Regions from separate parts of the Homo sapiens genome. Here all the other regions are linked to region 3. The links are contacts of gene promoters, found by promoter capture Hi-C in human tissues and cell types (Jung and others, 2019). All regions are on one chromosome and are shown on one strand. The core of a region is centred on a gene start or on the middle of the fragment in contact, and the rest is flanking DNA. Distances in the headings are between cores, read along the strand shown. Region 1 overlaps SFXN5 (sideroflexin 5). Region 2 overlaps SFXN5 (sideroflexin 5). Region 3 holds the start of SPR (sepiapterin reductase).

Region 1 (2,700 bases), core at 77-2,576, 130 kb before region 3:
TGGGATTACAGGTGTGAGCCACTGCCCCAGCTCTTCCACTTGATATATCTTGAAAATCACTGTATATCGATTTATAGAGATCTTCCTCATTATTACTTTTTTACAGCTATATAGTATTCTACTAAGTGGAAGTACCATGATTTATTTAGATAATTTCTTACATTAGATTATTTGTAATACTTTGCCATCATGAATAATGCCAAAATGGTAATCTTGTGATATTGTTGGAATATATCTTCAGGGTAAATTCCTAGGTTCTATAGAAGGACTAATTAAATAGACATTTCTAGAAAGATTGATCAAGACAAAAGAGAGAAGATACAAATAAACAGCATTAGCAATAAGAAGTACAATAATTATAGATGCAGTAGCAGAATAAAAGATCAGAATGCATTGAACAACTCAAGGCAATACATTTAAAGACTTAGAAGAAATGAATACATTTCTGGGAAAATACAGCTTACCAAAACTGCCTAGAAAGACGAAATATAGAGTCTTTTTTTTTTTTTTCTTTTTTGGAGACAAGGTATCACTCTGTCTCCCAGGCTGGAGTGCAGTGATGCGATCATGGCCCACTGCAGCCTCAAATTCCTGGGATCAAGTGATCCCTCCTGCCTCAGCCTCCCAAAGTGTTGGGATTACAGGCATGAGCCATCACACCTGGCCTTAAAATCTGAATAGACCTATAAATAAAAGGAAATTTAATTTGCAGTTTAAAATATTTGCACCAAAGAACAAACAAACCCAAAATTATCACTGGGCTCTGATCTTCCAGGTGACTGTTCCCAAAGGAAGAGCTGAACTTAATTTTATAAAGCTTTCAAAAGCAAAAAAAGTGCCAGGCATAGTGGTTCATGCCTCTTATCCCAGCACTTTGAGAGGCCAAGGCAGGGGAATCGCTTGAGCCCAGGAGTTTGAGACCAGCCTGGGCAACATAGCAAGACCTTGTCTCTATTGAAAAAAAACAAAAAAGAGAGAGGAAAAAAAGGAAATCTTCCCAGTTCATTTATGAGGCACTTTGAGACCAATACCAAAGTAAGTATAAGAAAGAAAAAGTATAAGCCAATATCACTTATGAAATTACATGTAAAAATTATGAAATAAAATAATAGCAATCTGATTCCAGCAATGCATCAAAGTACATCATAACGAAATGCTTTTTACCAAATATGATAACATTAGAGAATGTATTAATATTAGTTGATCACACTGAGAAACTGAAGGAGAAACATGATTTCCCCAGTAAATACAGAAAAAGTATTTGATAAAATAAAACATAACTCAATTTACGGTAATTATTATGATAAAAACAACAGATTAGGTCTAGAAGGAACTTTCTTAACTTGATAGTGTCTATAAAAAATGATTTAAACCAACCATAGCAAGCACCTGTCTTAAAGATGAAACAAAGGTAAATTCTTAATGTGTTGGACAGGGTAAGAATGACTGATAATGTTGCTTCTATCTAACATTTTCCTGGAAGACTAGCAAGTGCAGTAAGACATGAAAAAATAAACAATGGTATTAGAGTTGGAAAGAAAGAAAGAAAAACATTTATGAGAATAGACAAACTATTGGAACTATTTTAAAAGATTTCTGGATGTAAGACAAGTATACAAAAAAATTTTGTATGCCTATAAACCTAAAACAAACATCTAGAATATGATTTTTATAAAAGATGTCATTTACAATAGTATTTTAGACAATAAGGGATATAAAAATAAATTCAAGAAACAATATTCAAGACCTTAATAGAGAAACATATACAACTTTATTGAAGGACATTGGAGATCTAAATAAGTGGAGAGCTGTATCATTTTGTTTTCTTCAAATTAAAATCTATATTCAATGTAATTTCAGTCATAATCTCATCAGGATTTGTTATGGAACTTGACAGGTTGCTATGAAAAGTTACATGAATACAAGCTAGGGGATAAGAATAGTGAAGACAATTTTCAAGAATAAGGTGGTGGGAGAGGACTCACCCTACCAAATATTATAAGACAACTTGGTTTTGGTACAGTGATAAGCAAATATGTCAGTGGAACAGAACAGAGAACCTGGAGACATGCCCATATGGAAATTTAAGATTTGACTAAGGTGGCATTACAAATCAGTGGAGAAAAAGGACAAACCATCTAATAGTATTATATGGTGCTGGGACAGCTGGCTACCTATGTGGAAAAGAAAGAAAGTCAGATCTCTACATCACCTTATATGCAAAAGGACATTTAAATATGAAAAGAAAATATTTGCAGCAATGTTTATGATAGCAAAAAATTGGAAACCGCTGAAATTCCATCAACAAGAAAATGAATCAGTCATGGCTTAGTCACGCAGTGGAATACTTAACACAGGAAAGAAAACAATGAGCAAGGGCGACATTTATGAATATGGATAAATCTCAAAAACAATGTTGAATGAAAAAATAGTAGCAGAGTAGTAATGCTCTCTGTCATTTATATAATGTTAAAAAATATGCAAAGCAATATTATATATAGTTTATGAGTACATTTTTAATGCATCCTTAAAAACATCCATGGGAACAATAAGCACCGGCTTCGTGATACTGTTTACCTCTGGGGAGAGAAAGCAATGAAATTTAGCAGGAGAACAGGGGGTGCTTCATTTGTATTTATAGTGTTTCATCTTTTAAAAACATCTTCACAAAAAAATTGACGAAATAAGATTGGACATATA
Region 2 (2,700 bases), core at 104-2,603, 66 kb before region 3:
CCTCAGGTGCCCGGCCTGCAGCAAGGGTGTGCCCTCTGGGAGCCACCCTCTGGGAGCCATGTCTGGGCACGGCAAGTGGGCAGGGCCTTAGCCTTCCTGGGAACGTGTCTTATGGCCCCTAGACCCTCACTGGCTCCTTTGTCCTCCCTGCAGCTGTGGGGGCTGGGGTGGGGATGAGAGATTGGGTAGTGTGCTTCCTGGCTGGGGCTGCGGGCAGGGGAGAGGGCCCTGGGGCGCCCTTGTAGGGGCTGGCGGCTATGAGCGTGTGTCTCTTCCCTGCCTCAGCTGTTGCAGGGGCCCCTGGGGGCAGGAGTGAGGTTCACTGGCCAGGAGGCTTGTTTCCTGTGGGCCTGTTCCCTCCTGGCTGTCTTGTTGGTTTGTTGGCATCTGCCGTCTGCCTTCCCTGAAGCCTCAGCAGAGAACTGACCTCCCCCGGTACCCCCACCACCTGTTCCTGCCCCTTCTAGCTTTTGCCAAGCACCTCAACTAGAAGAAAAGACAGCCTAAGAGTCTCCCAGGGCCAGGGCTTCCTGCCCTGAGCCTCCCATGTCAGCCCTGGGAACTCCCCATGTCCCTCCCTCTCAGCTGAGCCCCTACTCACCTCAGCTCTAGAGGGTTCTGGGGATTAGAAGCCATGTTCTGAGGAAGTCTAAAGCCTTCCCCCGATGTCCTCAGCCCGTTATGAGCCTTGTCTCGTCCTGGCCTCAGAGGGTGGCTCTTACAGGCCACACCCATGTGGTAGACGAGGCAGGAAGGCCAACCTCAGCCACCCCATACTCCTTCCTGCCTCCCCACTTACAGCTTTCAGGGTTAAGAAACAGAGAGGCATACCCTCCCTGTATGGGCAAAAATGTGGGTACCCTCAGTGGGTACCAGAACCTCCACTATCTCTACCCTCTTACCAGCCCTGATGAAAATGGTGGTTTTGATGAACCAGCCTGGCTAAACAGCTGTGAGCCACCAGAAGCAAAGTCCCCCCAGCTTATCTTTCTTTGAGAAAGTATTGGGACCCCCAACCAAGAATGGAGAAGAGCTGGGAATAAGCTGGAATGTGAGTCCACATTCAAGCTGGTCTAGAAATGGCTCCTCCTCCAGGAAGTCCTCCCTGATCTTCCCCACTAAGATCTGTCTCACCTCACCTGTGTAGGCTCTGGTGGTGTGTTTTCTGTGTTCCATCTTCCCCCTTAGGACAGTAGACCTTTCTCCCTTCCATGACACAAGGTGTCCCTGTGGCAGAGAACTGGTGCCCTTTATCAACACCTAGTACAGAGCGTGGCTCATCTGGGTTCACCTTGACTTTGTTGGTCCCTGCTTCTCCCACTCTTCCAGGGTTGATGCGAGGCCAGAGACAATGTCTAGGGCACATTGCATCCCTCCTGAGTCTACAGCAGCATTCAGCGTCTCCCAGAGCAGGGGCCTCCTTCCCTCCAGTCTCAAATCCATCTCCTACTTTGCTTGGAGATGTTTGTTTGGGGTTTTTCTCATTTACTGGTTTAATCAGTCCCTACTGAACTCTAAAGTGGGCTATTTTTGCCGTCAGAAATCTGCTGCCTCCCCGCCCGCTGCTTTCTTGGAGTTTGCCCACAGGACCCCCCAGGAGGGATGGATGGGAATGGCAAAGCCGCTCAGAGCCCAGGAACGCCAACGCCACCTGTCATTTTGCCTGTTCCCCACACCCCCACCCCAAACCTGCGCGTGCACACAGGCTCGCACACATACACGTGCACGCAAGAACATGTACACATGCCCGGGTGGCAGGCCTCGGCGGGGCTGCCTGACAGCCTTTCCCCCACAGTTCTTTTTTCCAGGACCTTCCAGGACACCTAGCTGAATCCAGGATAGGGAGGGAGAAGGCTTGGTTGTGCAGAGCTTCCATTAAAGGCATTAATACATGCAAAGTGGAACATGCCTGGCCTGCAGCAAGGCTCAGCCCTGTGAGCTTAGTGAGTGGGGCTGGGGCTGAGTGTGGGGACCCTGGGTGCTGTCCTCTTTACACAGCATCACGCAGGTTTTCTAAGCCTCCAAAGGGCCATCCTATCCATTTTGTGATATAATCCTCGTGGCACCAGGAGATCTTAGAAAATCTTCCCATCATACATGTGGGGAAACTGAGGCCTCAAAGCTTAGAAGACAGAGGACAGAGAATGATTCTGAGATTGGTCCACCAGAGGGCACCCAGGAATGGTGCAAAGCTCCAAAATGGTAGGGGGCGGGGTGTGGTCTGAGCACTTGCTGGGAACACATAGCACAGGGGAGCCGGAAAAGTGTAAGACAGGATTCTTGCCCACGAGGCACTTCAGTGTCACTTAACTCAGCTGTTACTGAGGACCTACTGTGCACAAGGCATAGGGATACCGAGCTGCCTGGAGCGGCTCACAGTGGGGTGGGGCAGGGGACTACTGTAGTCACCCCTGTTTAGAGTGCAAATGAGCCTGTGCCTGGGGATGGGATGGAGATAAAAGCATGTGCTGGGGACACAGAGGCAGCAGCAATGGATTTGGTCTAAGAATATCAAGGGAGGCTTCCTGGAGGAGGCAGCCTTAGAGGGTCAGGATATAGCCTGGACTTAGGACTCAAAGCGTATACTTAGAATGTACAGAAAATGGACAGCAGTTGATGGGTGAAGAAGCTGGAAAAAGTCCCAGAAGGCCTGGAGTGTCCAGCTGAGGGTTCTTTCACTGAGAAGGTAGTGGGAGCCCA
Region 3 (2,700 bases), core at 135-2,634:
GTATCCCCGGCCCCTGCCACCTCTATTTCCCCTGGGTCTGTATTTCCCCTAAGGGGTGATGGGTCAAGATTCAAGGACAAAATCCTGTGGGTTGTTTCCTGGAGGGGGCGGACTAGGCCGCTTGCCCAGCCCCCAGAGGCGCACCAGTGGGTTCTGGAGGACAGGGACGGCAGGACTTCCCACCTACCTGGGGCATAGTTCAGCACCCTCACATTAGGTTCCTCCAGCGCCAGGACCTGGAACAGCATATCACGAGCAGCCTTTCCTGCACAGTACAGCGCCCAGCCTTTGAAAGGTTGCAGGGCACAGAGGGACGAGATGTTAACCACGGTTCTGTTGAGGCCAGGACTGTCCGGGAAGGCCTTCAGGACGCTGGAAGTCAGGCAGAGCATGGAGGTCAAGTTCAGTGCCCAGTAGTTGTTCACTTGAGTGGAGTCACTCAGGTCCACGAAGCCTTTGGACACATCCCCAAGAGAGCCTGAAAAACCAACCCTTAGGAGTAACTCAGTGCAGGCGGGGCTTTCTTCTTCCCCAGCCCTCCCAAGTTCCTCCAGATATCCTCTTCCCATGCAGACCTAGAGGAGGAAGCTGCCTAGCGCTTCTGAAGAGGCTTCTCTCTTCCCCAGCTCTGCGGAAAGACACAGCTGGGGAACCTAGCCATCCCAAGCTGCAGAATGAGAAGGCACCTGCCTTGCCGTGGGGCTGAAGGAAAGCTCTAGCGGTCCTTTGGAGAAGCAGAGAGTTTACTTGTTTGGAGACTCCAAGCCCTGACTCAGGCCTCCGCCAGAGGGCGCAGAGCAAGGGGCTCGGGAAAGTTCTACAGGCGCTTTGGAAAACCCGGCTGGCCAATTTTCCAGGAAGTGGGGGCAGACTGTTGTCCCGACGGCACCGAGTCTTCCTGTACACCTCGCCTCCACTTGCTACTCAAGCTGGAACAACTAGGGCTTTAGATTTCTAGGCGTCCTATCTGACCCCTAGGAGTAGCCCTTAAATTCCCCAGCGGTGGAGGAAGTGGGCGCTCACATGGGGAGTCCGCTCCAGCCCCGGGGTCTTACCCGCGTTGTTGATAAGCAGCAGTCGCTGCAGCCCCTTGGGCCGGGGGAGCTCGCGCAGGGCGCCGAGCAGCTGCTGCAAGCCGGCCTCGGCGCCCAGGTCGGCGGGCACCCGCACCACGCGCAGGCCAGACCGCTCGGCGCCCAGCTCGGCCTCCAGCTGGCGCAGTGCCTCGTCGTTGCGGGCGCTAAGGACAAGCACGGAGCCGGGCGACAGCAGCGAGGCCAGGAGCGGGGCCAGCGTCCGGCCGAAGCCGCGGGAGGCCCCGGTCAGCAAGCACACAGCACGCCCCAGCCCGCCCTCCATGCTCCTGTTCTCCGCCGGCGGCGCTGGCACCCGAGACCAGGCAGGAGGCGGTGCGGCCGCGGGGGGCGGGACCGCTACGGGTGTCGGCGGGGCCGCCCTGCCGGGGCGGGGCGGGAACCTCAGGCTTCGGGCCGCGAGCGCCCAGGGGTGCTGGTTCCCTTGGGATCTGGTTCCCTTGGTTGCTGGTGGCGGAAGTCAAACCGTGGCGGTAGCCCAGTCCGTGCCAAGTGGGACAACAGAGAGGGCCGGCAGGCGCGGCCCACACGGAAAGCCCTAGCCCGGTTCCCAGCGCTGCCGTGTTCTTCGCCCGCAAGCTCAGCCTCCGGCTGGGACGCATGCTCGAATTTCCTCCCAGTTCCAGCCCTAACTTTGCACTACTGACCTCTTCCAGGGCAGGCCCTGCACTGGGTGCTGGGCGTCCCTGGTCGTGGCCAGTGAACACCCTGAATGAAGCTTATGCCTGTTTAGGAATTGAAGTCTCTGCTTGTTTGGGAGCTCACCGCTCTCTGGATGACAGGAGCTTCCTCTGGGAGAACCACAGTGGCTCCAAATGATATTAAAACCTTTCCCTTTTACTAGGCCCTGAGCAGCTCCGTGATCCCACCAGTAACCCCTGCTTCTCTGAGATTTCTGACTCCTGTCCCTAAAAGTGTGTTCCCCAGGATTCTGCTCCTGCTCATGCTACAGTCTCCCTGGCAGCAATTCCATCCACTTTCAGCTTCAAGTTTGCGCAATCATCTGTCTGTACCTCCAGGCAGGTGCTTCAGAAAAATCCACATTTTTTTTTTTCTAGGAGAGGAGGAACGTGAGACAAGTTGGCATGCAGCTACATATATTAAAAAGGAATCTCTTCATGGTTTCCTTCTTAGTGGCCGAGTGGTATTCCATTGTGTATATACATATGTCCAAATATTGTGTGTCAGTTTTTAAAAAACGAATCTCTTTAGAGTTTAGCAAGGGCAGTAAGTAACCTCTGATAACTTAGCCCAATTCCCCACAGGGCTGATCCCTCCCCTGGGGCTAAACAGCAAAGTTACCGCCTTTCCACTATTATTGCCAACTCTAAGGAAGAAACAACTTGGAGGAAGGCTTTTTTCTTTTCTTTTTTCTTTTTTTTGACAGAGTCTCGCTCTGTGGCCCAAACTGAAGTGCAGAGGTGTGATCACAGTTTACTGCAGCCTTGAATTCTTGGGCTCAAGCAATCCTTCCACCTCAGGCTCCTGAGTAGCTAGGATTACAGGTGCGCACCACCACGCCTGGCTAATTGTTTTTTAAGCTTTTGGTATTTTAACGCTGATAAGACTCTGTATATGTGTATACCATTTGAAGTTGCCCTGCTTT

What was found. Contacts are between HindIII fragments. The study calls those that stand out against the background at their distance.
Region 1: a fragment that was not itself captured here is called in contact with the fragment with the promoter of SPR in region 3 in 10 of the 25 tissues and cell types used here (IMR-90 fibroblasts, bladder, heart left ventricle and 7 more).
Region 2: a contact is called between a fragment that was not itself captured here and the fragment with the promoter of SPR in region 3, in 7 of the 25 tissues and cell types used here (heart left ventricle, heart right ventricle, liver and 4 more).

What each region holds. Positions count from the first base shown.
Region 1 is chr2:73,013,756-73,016,455 of GRCh38, reverse strand. The region is part of intron 6 of SFXN5 (sideroflexin 5); the gene reads left to right. It overlaps LOC107985897 (a long non-coding RNA gene), which reads left to right. Exons shown (of 2, transcript XR_001739535.2): 1 at 1-2,700. Among named protein-coding and RNA genes, the nearest start is that of SFXN5, 57 kb to the left of the region's middle. The HindIII fragment of the contact is 6,383 bases long and covers 1-2,700 here.
Region 2 is chr2:72,952,110-72,954,809 of GRCh38, reverse strand. All of the region lies in intron 13 of SFXN5 (sideroflexin 5), which reads left to right. Among named protein-coding and RNA genes, the nearest start is that of EMX1, 36 kb to the right of the region's middle. RefSeq lists a silencer at 652-821 and an enhancer at 2,215-2,700. The HindIII fragment of the contact is 8,875 bases long and covers 1-2,700 here.
Region 3 is chr2:72,886,092-72,888,791 of GRCh38, reverse strand. SPR (sepiapterin reductase) reads right to left here and starts at 1,384. Exons shown (of 3, transcript NM_003124.5): 1 at 1,056-1,384; 2 at 188-478. The coding sequence starts at 1,359. RefSeq lists silencers at 330-504, 1,143-1,532. The HindIII fragment of the contact is 16,003 bases long and covers 1-2,224 here.